3 separate regions of the Homo sapiens genome follow, and all the other regions are linked to region 3. The links are contacts of gene promoters, found by promoter capture Hi-C in blood cells and fetal thymus (Javierre and others, 2016). All regions are on one chromosome and are shown on one strand. Each heading gives the region's core, a stretch centred on a gene start or on the middle of the fragment in contact. The rest is flanking DNA. Distances are from core to core; before and after follow the strand shown. Region 1 overlaps CADM3 (cell adhesion molecule 3). Region 2 has its middle 12 kb from the start of CADM3. Region 3 holds the start of KCNJ10 (potassium inwardly rectifying channel subfamily J member 10).

What was found. Contacts are between HindIII fragments. The CHiCAGO score rates a contact against its expected background, and 5 or more counts as called.
Region 1: a contact is called between a fragment that was not itself captured here and the fragment with the promoter of KCNJ10 in region 3, in 1 of 17 cell types (neutrophils). The highest score is 5.0, in neutrophils.
Region 2: a fragment that was not itself captured here is called in contact with the fragment with the promoter of KCNJ10 in region 3 in 1 of 17 cell types (endothelial precursors); the score reaches 5.1 in endothelial precursors.

Annotation. Positions count from the first base shown.
Region 1 is chr1:159,175,248-159,179,658 of GRCh38, reverse strand. All of the region lies in intron 1 of CADM3 (cell adhesion molecule 3), which reads right to left. It also overlaps the pseudogene RNA5SP60. Among named protein-coding and RNA genes, the nearest start is that of CADM3, 5.8 kb to the right of the region's middle. The HindIII fragment of the contact is 3,418 bases long and covers 831-4,248 here.
Region 2 is chr1:159,157,204-159,161,877 of GRCh38, reverse strand. No RefSeq gene overlaps it. Among named protein-coding and RNA genes, the nearest start is that of CADM3, 12 kb to the left of the region's middle. The HindIII fragment of the contact is 2,208 bases long and covers 1,609-3,816 here.
Region 3 is chr1:160,068,380-160,073,205 of GRCh38, reverse strand. KCNJ10 (potassium inwardly rectifying channel subfamily J member 10) reads left to right here and starts at 3,046. Exons shown (of 2, transcript NM_002241.5): 1 at 3,046-3,184. RefSeq lists enhancers at 958-1,317, 3,495-3,664, a silencer at 2,855-3,084 and a cis regulatory region at 3,579. The HindIII fragment of the contact is 4,127 bases long and covers 1,389-4,826 here.

The DNA of each region.
Region 1 (4,411 bases), core at 1,290-3,789, 890 kb after region 3:
CCAGGTCATAGAAGGGTAAAAGTAAAATATGAAACAAGAATCTGCATATTTCCAATAAAATCTGTTGTCAGAAGTACTAGTTCTTCATCCTACCTTGCCAGTATTTGGGAGTATATGAAGAAAGGGGAGAAATGAATAATGGCTAGCCTACAGATGAGTGCCTGAGACATCAGCCTTCATTACTTTTTCTTTTTTCTCTCTAGAGCAAGGTGATGCACCTGACCTTCTTGACCCTGAACTAGAAGTAAATGAGCCAAAGGTGCTTATAATTAGCAATCAATACACAGTTAGTGTAAGTCTAGCTGGGGAAAGGGAAAATAAATCCTTAGAGAAGACAACATTTTAGTTTGTTCTTTAAGTTATTTAGCTTTCTTATTGTTCTCTTGGAGACTTCCAAGAGAAAGAGAGAGAGAGAAGAGAATCTTGAAGAATCCCAGGGGTAAGAGTTCACATTAAAGAATGATATATGTGCTGAAAAATATGTTGAGATTTCTGTATTTGAGTCCTTTCTGAAACCTGCCTGCTCTTCATGAGAACAGGGGGCTTAGGAAGATGAGTAGATGGGAGACACTCCAGCTGTTACTATAACCCTAATTCTGTCTTGCTGAAGCCTCGCTCATAGAGATAAATCACTCTCATTACCTGTCCTTGAGGAATGAAGTTTCTCCTTGTTTCAAATGAAGAAATGAAAGAGGAGTCCTGGAAATTCATCCTGGAAGCCTGCCTCTCCAACTAGACTCTGCTGTAGGTCACTCATAAGTATTAACTATTATATTAACTCTTATCCATAAATTGACATGGGAAAATCAGCATTTAGGGGATGAGAAGCTTGTGTAGTTCTGATGCGATGTGAAGAACAGGCTGGCTAATCTAAGACTGACGGGCTGAGCACTCTCAGCTCCCTACGCCGTTTGATATCATCAGCTTATTGGAAGGTACCCTTAAAGCATAGCAGAGTAGAGTTTAAAGATGCATCTACTGAGATATGGCCAAGGACCTGTGCTCTGGGAGAAGATGGTTATATTTAAAGCCATTTAGTTTTGTACAAGGTGGTTATAAAGGTGGGGAAGTTAAGTCAAGATTTTGATATTTGTTTTCTCCTATACATGTACTAACCAGGCCTAACCCTGCTTAGCTTCCGAGATCAGACAAGAGCCGGTGCGTTCAGGACGGTATGGATGTACACTTGATACTTGCTTTCTATGCCTCTCATTTACTGGATTCCTCCATTATCTATTCTGATAACCCATTGTTATGTATTGTCTTTGCTAAGGTTGAGGGAAAAGGGTAAAAAAGCACCATGACAGGAAAGTTAGAGTTGGTTGTCATGCTCAGAGTGCTATTAAGAGGTACATGTTTATAAACTGGGTAGGATTCATTTTACATTCCACACTTATAGTGTATACAGTCAATCCTGCATATACATGGGTTCCACCTCCATAGATTCAATCAATTGCAGATTGAAAATATTTTTAAAAGCTGTGCCAGTACTAAACTTGTATAGACATTTTCCCCTGTCGTTATTGCCTAAACAATACAGTAAAACAACTATTTACATAGCATTTAGATTGTATATGGTATTATAAGTAATCTAGAGATAACGAAGTATACAGGAGAATGTGCATAGGTTATATGCAAATGCCACTCCATTTGATATCAAGGACTTGTGCATCTGCAGATTTTAGTATCTGTGGGAGGTCCTGGAACCAATCCTTCATGGATACCAAAGTACAACTGTATATTGTTATCATATAAGAGCAATACTATCTCAATCTAAAACAGAACTATATATAGTTGTATTTTTAATCTATGAATCCAGATATGACAAAACATTCAGTTCTTTTGAGGCCATTTGAGGTCACTGTAGGCCACAATTTCCTGAGCATCTTACAAAAACCTTCTAGCACTTCTTTTTTAACCTAAGAATTGCTTGCCCTTCTGTTCCCTTTCTGCAGTTGATCAGATGGCTGTGAGGACTTTCTAGATCTATATCTCAGAGTTTTGTCATGTGTTTGTGGTGGAACAGGTCGGGGAGCATAACCAAGAACCTGTGTGTTTGTGGTGGCAGGGAGGGAGATTTCAGCCCTGTTCTGGGGACTGCACTGTGGAGAATAAGGAGATTATGAAACTTGGAGGTAAAACAGGACCATGGAGAGCAACAAGAAAAGCCTGGAGTGTCACTGTCAGGGGCTAGCACCATGGAGAGCTCAAAGCACAGGTATAATAGTTTGCTCCATAAAGAACAGGGGAACTGGGATCACGGGGTAAGGCAGCCAGCTCTCAAGCACAGGAACTAAAAGAACAGACATCATGGCTTCTATTAGGATCACTCTACGCTCATCACTTGCTCTATAAGGCCTCCTGAAGTGCTTTATTTGAACCTGTCTGGTTGATACACAGTCAAGAGACTGTGCTGAAAAATGAGGACCACCACCAGACTCAGTTTGTCAACATGATCTTCTGTGATTATGTTAAATACCTAGATATTAGTGGTGATGGAGGGGCTTTTAATGTGCTACAACTTACCGTGAGTAAAATTAGGCCTATCTTCTAAAGAGGGAACAGAGAGCCTGTGCCCCCTCAGAGACAGTAGGATGCAAGAAAGTCAAAATATGTATTTTCGTCAGGTAGGGTATGAGACGTATCAGACTCAGAATGTCCCAATGTATCCAAAATTGCTGTAAGTAGTTCAGACAATCACACTAGAAGAGAGGTATGGAATCATGCCTCTTAAGAAGAGTATTGTTCTCAGGATTTAGAAGTTTCTCTGTTAGTTGAGGAATTTGATGACGGCCTTAAGGCTTAGGAAAATTTTGGTAAAGAAAGAAATGATTCTTTAGTAGTTGCTGCTTCAGTGAAGAATATGTACCTTTACTTCTTAGCATCTTAGCTTCTATTGTGTAAAAATCTCAACAGATTCATGCGTTCAAGCCTCTTGAGAGCTCGACTTCTCTGTACTAGAAGGGATGGATCTTCTTGTCATATATAACAGAATTGGACTGGGTTTTTACTTGGGTAGTTATTGGAGCCCTGGGCACCAGCTGGTTCTGACCTTGTAAAAAATCATCACTACTGCTGATCCCAGAGGCAGAAACAGGTCTCTAGCCCTGGAAACTTGTTCTTCTTCATTTTATGATGACCTGAAGTATTTATACTTAATCGGAGCAAGTTCTTAGAAACAGAATCTTTTTCTGATGGCTTGCTTCTCCAGGGTCCTTTTCTGATGGTTTGTTTCTCTCTGTCTTTTGTAAGCATTTCCATGGGGATTGCTATTCTCAGAGATTAAGGGTGGACCTCTAAAACAAGACCCCATACAGGAAACAAAATGTTCTAGTACATGGGCCTATAGTCAGTGTTAAACATGAAACATTACATTCTAACATGAAAAATAAAAGAAAATATAATTACCAAAACTTTATAATAACTTTGAATTTTTCACTCAGTAGTCAGTAAGTAGCTGGTCCAATCCACAGCTTGCTTTCAACAAGAATCTGGAACCTAGATCACCATCCTTAGGTAAAATTCCATTACTGAGAATTAGATGACAAAAAAGGGATTGTTGAGCCAGTATGCAGTTCCACTGGAGTAGGAAACAACAAAGAATAAGACTAGTCACAGCCCCAGGGGTTTTCTTTCTCTGGTGATATTTTTTCCTACCAAGTGATTTAAGGAAAATAAACTTTTGATCCTGTTTTACATATTATTTGGACTGCAAGAAAGTAGTAACATCAAGAAGTACCAAAATCAAATCTAAGAATTTACAGAGCAATGGCACAACCTCTCAGTTTGTTATTTCAAAGTAACCAGAACGCCAAAGCGATGCTGTCTCTGGAATTTTATGGCTGCAGAACTATGAGTCACTCTCTCCAAGTGAATAGTGAATATCTCCAACAAGGCACTCTTGCAATTAGATTTGGACCTTCTTTCTTCTTCAGTTGGAAGAGGAAAGAGAAAGAGCCTAAGGGTAGTAAGCTGGCTCATTCTATCAGTCTAGGACAGAGGATTTTGAACTGTGTGGTAGAACCCCAGGTAGTTCCTTAAGGATTATAAGAATGTGTAAAAGCCAGTAAGACAGGGAAAAGGGATATAGGTCTTACTTCACCATTTCAACAACAGCATTCTCCTTTGATATGTTTTCCTCATTTGTTAAAAATGTCTCACATCTTTGTTTTAAAAACAAATGAGAAAACTGCTGCCCTAGAGGAAACTATTAAAACTAACAGTGCTATCCAGATCTATGGAGAAGCTTAGAATAGAATGGCATAACTGCTGGGTAGGCAGTTGACGTTACATACATTAGGACCTACATGAAACACACTGATTCTTCATGGAATTAACTAAACTCTGCTATGCAAGTGTCTCTGTGATGGTCTTAACTTTTCTGTGCCAGAAAATGCACATGTCTAAAAGG
Region 2 (4,674 bases), core at 1,463-3,962, 910 kb after region 3:
GCCACCAGTTTCCAGTCCCAGGGCTTCCTTGTGGACCGCTGTGCCTGTGTGCCCATACCTGTCAGGCTGATGACTGCTGCTGCTATTCCTTGTGGCTAAGCCAAGAATGGATGCAGATACATTTGGTGTTCTCACCATGTTCACAAAAGGCCATAGCTTTTTTTCATGTGGACTGTGAAGGCCTAGGAACGACTGTGTGTGCTGCTTTGAGAAAGTTAACCAGGTTCTGGGCCCAGCTCCAAGGAGACACTTCTGACTCATTGGAAAGGCAGAAGAGTGCAGGAGAGTGAGAAAGCCTGGATTTAGAAAGTGGACTCATCTGGGCTTAAATACCAGCTGTGCCACTTATGTCATTTGAGATCAGTCTTTTCATGTGTTAAACATCAGACATTGTTATTGTCTATCTTGTAGGCTTATAAAGATTATTAAATGAGGACATTTATGTAAAACTCCTAGCATAGAACCCAATACATGTTTGTTAGTTACCTTTCTCTGTGACCTCTTCACCCTAGAGCAGGGAGATGTTCCTCTGTTTCTCTGAGTGTACCATAGAATCTTGCCCTGTGTTCACTGTCCGAGTATAAAGCACTGCTTGGATCTAGATTTTCAGTTCCAATAACTTTTTTCACTTTCGCCAAGGTCTCTCTGTTAACCTGCTCTCTGCTACCCTCGTGTGGCCACCCTGACCCTTTGTCATTCCTGATCCTCTGCTCCCTCAGTGTGGTGACTTTGCTGTAATGCAGCCTCTCCCAGACTTCTTGGCAGACCCAACTCCCACCTCCTCCAAGTTTTAACACACACTTGAAACATTTTTCAGTTTAATTTTAGTCTTCTCTTCTCAGGTAGTGTTATCTCAGTTCTTCTAACCTTTTCTCACTTCTTTTTAATATTTACCGATCTGTCAAAGACTGCATGAATTCTTTCCTGCATGTTGAGAGTTTGGACCCAGTGAGGTCTCCTCAAGCTTCAGATCACATTATCTGTTTCCTTGCTCAACACCAAGTTCTCTTTCCCATGAATGACGAAAAAACAAGTTGACCCTTGAACAACATGGATTTGAACTGTGTGGATCCACTTATACATGGATTTTTTTTTCAATAAATACAGTTTGCCCTCTGTATCTCCAGGCTCCATATCTGCAACCAAACAATATTCTCCGGATGGGCAAACTGCAGATAGGGAGGGCAGACTTTTTCTATATGCCAGTTTCCTGGTTCTGCTGGTTCCGCTGTTTTCACAGGGTCAATTGTAGATCTTGAGTATGTGCAGATTTTGGTATCCTGTGGCAAGGGTGTGGGCGTCCTGCAGCCAATCCCCAGCAGATACTGAGGGATGACTGTATTGTCGTAGATTATTTAATCATAAAAAGCTCTATTTTTCCCCCTGCAAACTCAAATCTGTTTAAGTTAATAAGGAAAAGTATACCTATTCTTGCCTTGTTAAAGGGTAATGATGGATCTTGGATAGACCCAGAATGTTAGCACTTCAAAGTGAGGATGTGTAGACAAAGAATATAACTGCTTTATCCCTTTCCTAATTGCATGGCATCTCTAGCACAGGGAATGAAGGATTATTTAGGATAGAATCAGTATACTGGTTTGAAAAGCTTTGTGGATGAAAAATAAGGGAAATCAATTTGATGAGATGGCTAGTTTAAACCAAATTTGGGAGGTGGGATTTGAAAACTAGACACTGAAGAGCTTTATCTTTATCCCAATGTCAGTTGGAAAAAAAATTGTAGCAGGACGTTATGTTGTTGAATTGGTATTTAAATATTAATTCTAAGATTCATTGTGGTAAAGATGGTAATTTTTAATTTATAAATTTGATGCAATACTATGCTAAATTCCAATAAGATATTTTATGGAACTTGACTAGCCTATTCTAACATTCCCTTGGAAGATAAAGTCAAGAGTAAATAGCCATAATTTTTTAAACACATGGGGCTAAGGGGGAGGATGATTTTCTAGCTATCCTAAGCAACTTTAAAATTATAGCAATTAAAACATGAAATCTTGGCACAGGAATACATAAATAGAACCATGGAGCAGAAGAGAGAGTGTAGTTACAAACCAACTTGGAAATTTAGTGTATGAAGAGTGCTACCTTCATTATATACTACACTTCTAATCAGTGACTAGAGGGTTGTACTGTTTAAAGACATTAGAATAATTGGTTATCTGTTTGTCAGTTGGTATGGGATAGGTTTAGCCTTTCCTTATGCCATATACGACAATATATTTCAGGTGGACTTGTGCTAAATTTTATAAACCAAACAACACTAAAAATGTTTGCAAAAACTGTCGAAAAATATACTTAATCTTAGAGTGGGAAAGACCTTCCTAAGCAAGACACAACACCTAGAGTCGATAAAGGAAAGGACCGATAAGATTTACTGCATAATTTTTAAAACTGATATAATTGCAGACCCATAGACAAAATGTAAAAGTAAGTCACAGACTGGGAAGATTTTATTTGCAATATATATGCCAAAGTATCAAAATTGCTAACATGCAAAATAGTCAGCAAATAAACATAAAAAAGACAAACAGTCCAAGAGAAAATTGGGCAAAGGATATGAGTATGAATTCTCAGAAAAAAAATACAGTTGTCTAATAAACATTTGAAAAGATGATCAACGGCATTTGGATTTTGAGAAATACAAGTTATAGCACCAAAGAGATCCTAGACTGTTAAAAAGCATCAAAGAACCCATCAGATTGTTAAAAAATTAAAATGATGGATAATACTCAGTGTTGGCAAGTGCTTAGGGAAATAGGCACCTTTATATATTGTTAGGGAGGATGTAAATTGGCACAGCCTTTTTGGAGATATTTTGGCAGAATGCATCAGAATTAAAAATAGAAATACCAGCAGTGCTATTTCTACAAATTATGCTATAGATCTGTTCACACATGAGTGCTCTGATTTATGTGCAGAGATATGCATCACATCATTTTTTTCCAGTAGTGAAAAATTGAAGACAACATAAATATTCATCAATAGTGAATTGGATAAATAGATTATGCTATATCATACTTTGTAATAACACATTGCAGTTAAAAAGAATGAGGTAAATTTATATCTACCAACATAGAAAGATACAGAAGGTATGTTGTTCAGTGAAAATACAAAGAAAATACACATACTGCTATCCCTTTTGTGTAAAATGGGAAAAAAGCATAAAACATATACATATGTGTATGTAAAATCTTATATGCATATAAATATGTGTTTAAGTAAATGAATAGTTACTTACTGGCTGTGTGACTTCAGGCAAGATACTTAACCGCCTCAGCATTTTTTTTCATTGTGTGGAAAATAGAGATAATTTTACATGACCCCTAGGGTGGTATGATGTGAAAATTAAATAAATTAATCTATTTAAATTGCTTTAAATAGCGCCTGGCACATAGTAGGCACTTGAGTGTTTCTATTGTTCAGATGCATATTAAACTTGGAAAATTATTTTCTGGGCCAGGAGTGAGACTTAAGTCATAAGGGGGACTATAATTGTCCATATTATATACTTCATATTTTTATAATGTGTGCCTATGTATTGAATGATTAATTTTTTTTAAATTAAATGCTTATTCTAAGAATATGAGTTAAAAGATGATTATAGAAATCCAGGAACAAAGTAAAAGAGTCCTGAGCAAGGGCAGTGGAATTGGGAATGGAAAAGAGGTGCTACGTTTGGTGTTGGTTATGGGAAGCAAGACAGAGGGAGAAGGCTGAGGCAGCTCTCAGTTTTGGCTTTTGAGTGACTTGGAAAATGCTGAACCATGAAAAGAAATAGTGGAATTAGGAGAAGCTTTTTGTGGGGTTTAGTATTTTGGAATGAAGGAGGATTAGTGTCTTACTTGAGGCTGCTAAAACAGAATACCATAAACTATGTGGCTTAAACAACAGACTTTGGTTTCTCACAGTTCTGGAGGCTGGGAAGTCCAAGATCAAGGTACTGGTGGATTTGATTCCTGTTGAGTGTCCTCTTCGTGGTTTGCAGACAGCCACCTTCTCAATGTGTCTTCACATGGTGGAAAAAGAGATTGTCTCCCTGTGTCTCTTCTTATAATGACACTAATTCCATTTATTAGAGTTCCACCTTCATGACCAAATCACCTCTCATAGGACTCACATCTAAATACATGAGGGATTAGAGTGTTAACATCTAAATTTGCAGGAGACATAATCAATTTGTAACAATTTTGTTAGATTACATTGAGTTTAAGCTGAGGGCAACCCATCAAGTAGGAAATATTGAATAGACTGGATATGAAAACTGGAGCTCTGGAGAAAGTTGAACGTTCTACCACTTTGAAGTAGACCAGCAGAAGAAGCCTAAAGTTCTCAGTGTCATTTTAAGAGTTCCCATCTAATACTTGCATTACAAAAATCAAGAACTGTGGTATTATAGGATGATATGTGTCTAGGAGGACAAAGACCTGTTCTAGTGGTTTTGATTGTTGATTCTTTTTCTTTGGTAAACATACATTGAACAACTACCATGTGCCAGGCACTGCCCAGACTATCAAGGGTAAAAAAACTCAAGTTTCTCTCTCTCTGGTAGGAACAGAGATTCACAAAATTGAGTACGTTACAGAGTGCTCAGTCCTCCGATAGCCATATGCACAGGGTGCAGTAATGGTGTGAAGATGGGTGTGATCCAGTCTG
Region 3 (4,826 bases), core at 1,797-4,296:
AGCTAAGCTTGTCCAACCCACCGCCTGTGGGCTGCATGCAGCCCAGGACAGCTTTGAATGAGGCCCAACACAAATTTGTAAACTTTCTTAAAACATCATGAGGGTTTTTTTTGTGATTTTTTTTTTTTAAAGCTCATCAGCTACTGTTAGTGTTAGTGTATTTTATGTGTGGCCCAAGACAATTCTTCTTCTTCCAATGTGGCCCAGGGAAACCAAAAAATTGGACACCCCTGCCTAAGTCCTCTCTGTCTGTGAATGTCAAGACTGTGGCCCCCTTAAGGATCTTTTGGATGTCCTATTTTTTGAAACTTAAAGGTCTTATACCAGTCTTGCAGGCTGGCCCTCAGACCACCTCACCACAGCCCCTCATCCATATTGACTTAGGAAGAGAGGGCATTCGGAGTGTGAAGAAGAAAAACTGGAAGACTGTTTCTTTTTCTTTTTATTTTGTGTTTTGTTTTGTTTTGTTTTTGGAGACAGAGTCTAGCTCTGTCCCCCAGGCTGGAGTGCAGTGGCGTGATCTCGGCTCACTGCAACCTCTGCCTCCCAGGTTCAAGCGATTCACATGCCTCAGTCTCCCAAGTAGCTGGGATTACAGGCGCGTGCCACCAGGCCCGGCTAATTTTTGTATTTTTAGTAGAGATGGGTTTTTGCCATGTTGGCCAGGCTGGTCTCAAACTCCTGACCTCAGGTGATCCACCCACCTTGGCCTCCCAAAGTGCTGGGATTACAGGCATGAGCCACCTGGCCTGGCCTGTTTCTAGTACATTGTCTGGTTTCTATTTCTCTCCTCTCTATGAGTAGAGTTCTCAAAAGTGTAACCTATACTTGCTGACAGTTTCTCACTTTCTAGTGGTAACTTGTAATCTGGTTCCCACCTTGCTCACTCTTCTGAAATTGCTCTCAAATGTCACTAGAGACTTTGTCACTGCCAAACCCAATGCCTCTTCTCTCTGTACTTGTTGGCACTGTTAGAACCTCCTCCTTAACAGTCTCTCCTTCCTTAGCTCCATGACATCTCACTTTCTTTGTCTCCTTCCTGCCTGTCTGGTGGATTCTCTTTCACTCTTTGGGGGTCCTTCTTCTTCCCATCCCCTAAACATAGGTGTTCCTCACTCTCTGTGCCAGGCTCTCATTTCTCTGTGCAGTCTTTGTTGGGATCTACCCTGTTCTCATAGCTTCAACTCACACTGCCCTGGCAGCAATGACCTCCTTTCTCTCTCTGGTTCTGACCCCTCTCCACAGCTTCCAGCTCTGAACTCATCACTTCCTCTTCCCCCACCTCAGTCTCCTCACCAGGTGTGATCCCCCCCAGGCTCCCCTATGCCCGTGAATGACCTCGCAGTTCTGATCACCTGACTTGAGACTCTAGTATGATCTCTGAAGCTTCCCTCTTTTGCTCAACATGTCAAGTTGGCTTCAAACTTTTTTCATTTTCTTTTGATTTTTCTGTACTCCAATTCATTTTCTGTGTTCCACTTTTCACCATTGCCACGCTGATTTGGGCTGTCATCTCTTCATGCTTATATTATTGCAATTATTTTCTATCGTCTACTTGCCTACTATATCCACTTGGTTCAAACTATTTTGTCACCTCCCGATTAATTTTCCTAAAATGCCATAGCTTTCTCCTACTCCATCCTTCCCAAGAACCTTCAATTGCTCTCCGTAGCCTACAGAAACTCTGGCCTGACCACAAATCAGCACAACTCTGTGTTTCTTCCGGATGTTCCCCTTAACACAAACACTGCCTATGGTGCCTAACCTTTAGTCCCGTCCTTCCAGCTTCTCCAATGAGGCTATTTGAATGGACATTTACTTATCTTATGGCTTTTAGTGGTTAAACTAAGCTACATTCCTAGTTTCTTTCCTTTTTTTACCTGAATTTATAGCAATTCAATATGGTAACACTGGTTATTGATTAGCAGTTAAATGTTTATGATGATCAGAAATGAGGAAATAATTATATTCTTTTTAAATAAATGCTGGGGGTGGGGGTGAATTAAAACCTCTCAACACATAGATTCAGAAAATTAAAGAAATCTTTGGTGATGAAAGGGTTGAGAACCATCACCCTGCACTCTAATCTAGTAAATGGGACAGTTTGATGCTGTTTCCCAAGTGAACTTGTATTTTCACGTCTCCCCAGGACTCTGCTACGTTGTTCCCTCTGCCTTAAATGCAACAGAGTCCTGGGGACCATCTCTCAGCACCTGAATCTTCTGCTTCCTTTGGGACCCTAATCAGATGTTACCTCTTTCCTCCCACATCTGCTAGGAGCCCTCTGAGTAGAATGACCTCTCCCTTTTACAGCCTTCAGTACCTCCCGCACTTCGCTGAGGGTTCCGGCCTTATCTTTCCTTACAGAGAAAGCCGCTGCAGGTGGGCACCGTGTGCTGCGCGTCTCTCACCCAGCACCGCACCGGGGACTTAGGAGACGGTGAACAACACGGGAATTGTGCCCAAAGATACAGTCCTGTGGCTCAGGGAGCCCAGGCCTACTCCGCCCCAATCTCACTTCCAGGCGCCGCCTTCGGCGCTGCCTGCAGGGCCACTGGGCCGGTCCTGAATTCATTTCCACTTCGTTAACTCGGTCCCAGTCCCGCCCCCCGGCTCCAGCTCTCGTAACCCATCGCTGACAGGACCGCCTCCCTTTTCTTCCTTCTCCCTTCCCCTGTCACCCTGCCAGCTCAGCTCCTATCGTTTCGCATATCGTCTCTTCATCTCTCTTTCTCCCCGGGTCTGTCTGGGTCTCTGTCTTTGGATATTTCTCTCTGCGCCTGCAGCTGTCTGGGTCTCCGCTTCCTTGCCCCGCACGCCCCGCCCCCTGCCCAAGACCCTCCAATCTCGGCGGCTCGAGCCTGGCGCTCCACTCTCCCATTGGTCTGTTCGGAGCCCCCCGCCCCCGCCTGCCCGGCCCCCCTCCGGGCCCCTCCATTCACACAAAGTTTGGCTCCGGCGCTGCGGAGGGAGGGGGCGGCCCGGCCCGGCCCAGCTCTGCCCCCGGCCGGCCCGACCCCGGCCCCGGCCCCCGGACAAGCCCTTATCTGATCCCAGCTCCGGGTTTAAGAGTCCTGGCCCGGCCCGTCGCACAGCTCTGCTCCTAACTCCTGCCCGCCCCGTCCGTCCATCTGTCCCGCTGCCCCGCGGCCCATCCAAGGGGCCACTCCACCTCGGACCCAAGGTAAGACCCTGGCCCTGATGAAGGAGTTCTGCCGCCCCGGCCGGGTCCTGTCCCCCTAACTCTCCAGAGACATCGGGGTCCCAGATCCTCAGTCCCTACCCTGCCTGGCCTCAGCGGTACCACCGTCTTGTTCCCCTGCCTCCCGCCTTGGGCAGTCCCAAATGGAGCCTCCTGGGAAGGGCTCCCCACGAGGAAACTAGCCAGGCTGGTCACCTCAGCCCTTTCATCTAAGGAAGGGGCTTTCCCGATGCCCCCTCCCACTGGGCAGACCAGCAGTTGCATCCCTGCTCCTCTAGTTAATACAGTGACAACCACACATAACCAGGCACCCCATACACAGGCACAACAGACAGTGCGCCCTCCTCCCCATATGGACAGGTTACTCCCATCCCCAGCCCCTCCCCCACTCCCCATACAGTGACAATCACATAGTGACACCCATGATCGCTAGTTCCCACATGGGGAGAAAAACAGATACTGGCAGCTTAAACCGGGGAGCCACCAAAGCCTGGTGTGCTCCAGACCCCTGCCCACCCAATCTCTTCCTTCTATTCTGAGTGGCTCCCATTTTAAGACATCCCTCCTCATGGCCCCTCACCCTCACCCCAGCTGTTTCGCACTGGGATTTCCAGAAGGAAAGGAGCAGGGCCACTTCTGCTAGAGTGAGAAGGGCAGATTGGGTTCTATAAACTCACCCTCCAGATGGAGACGCCCCTTCCCATTCCATTCCTCCTCTCATCAGAACTAACCCAGGGCACCTGTGTTAGGGAACAGATGAAGGATGGAACTTCCTGATTTGGGGGAGGAGAGCTGAACCCAGGAATGGGTAGAAGGACAACACTGGGAAAAAGTGAGGGTGGGTTCTGGTGTCTTGAAGTTTAATTCCAGTGAGTGCCCCAGGCAGGGTGAGGCAGATGGGGAAGAAGCTGGTGCAGATTTGGACCCCAAAGAGGCCAGTGCTTAAAGCCTGCTTCTGTTGCTTACCAATACAAATTCTGACTAAAGATGTCTGGCCAGTCTGCTCTTGCTGTGGTGTTTGAATTTTTTTTCTCCCCACTGGGACTGCTTTAGGCTGCCTGGGTGGGAGGGAGATAATGACAGGAGATTTAGGGCCCCCATGTGAGAGATGGCCTTGTTTAAGGGTGCTGAGGAGGGCCTGGAGTGGTTGTCATGAAATTAGCCCCAGGAGGGGTGGGCAGCCACCAGTGAGTTCAATTTAGTTTCATCCTGAAACTCTCTCCCTAATCTCCAAGGATTTTTGAACATATTCCTGGCATGATGGTGGGTACCATCCTGTGCCAAGTGGTAGGGCTTGTAAATTTCTCTGGGGGTAGACTGGGTATAGGGGACCAAGTTTGGAAGGAACCAGGCATCCTGACTCATAGCTGGTTCTTCAGGGAGGAAGAAACGAGGGAGGAGGGGGATGGAAGGCATCATGCCAGGGAGAGGGTCCAGGGCTGGATTGTGGAGGCAATAGGCACGGCCCAGGCAGTGCCAACTCCTTTCCCCGCTGCCTTCCCCCAGTCCTTTGGTGGTGGTGGCAAGGGAGGAAGGGAGGGAGAGGGTGTTGGGGGGTGATCTGGGCTGGTCCAGCCTCCCAAAGCCCTTGCCAACCTGGGTCCTGAAAGGAGCTGCTGTTTTC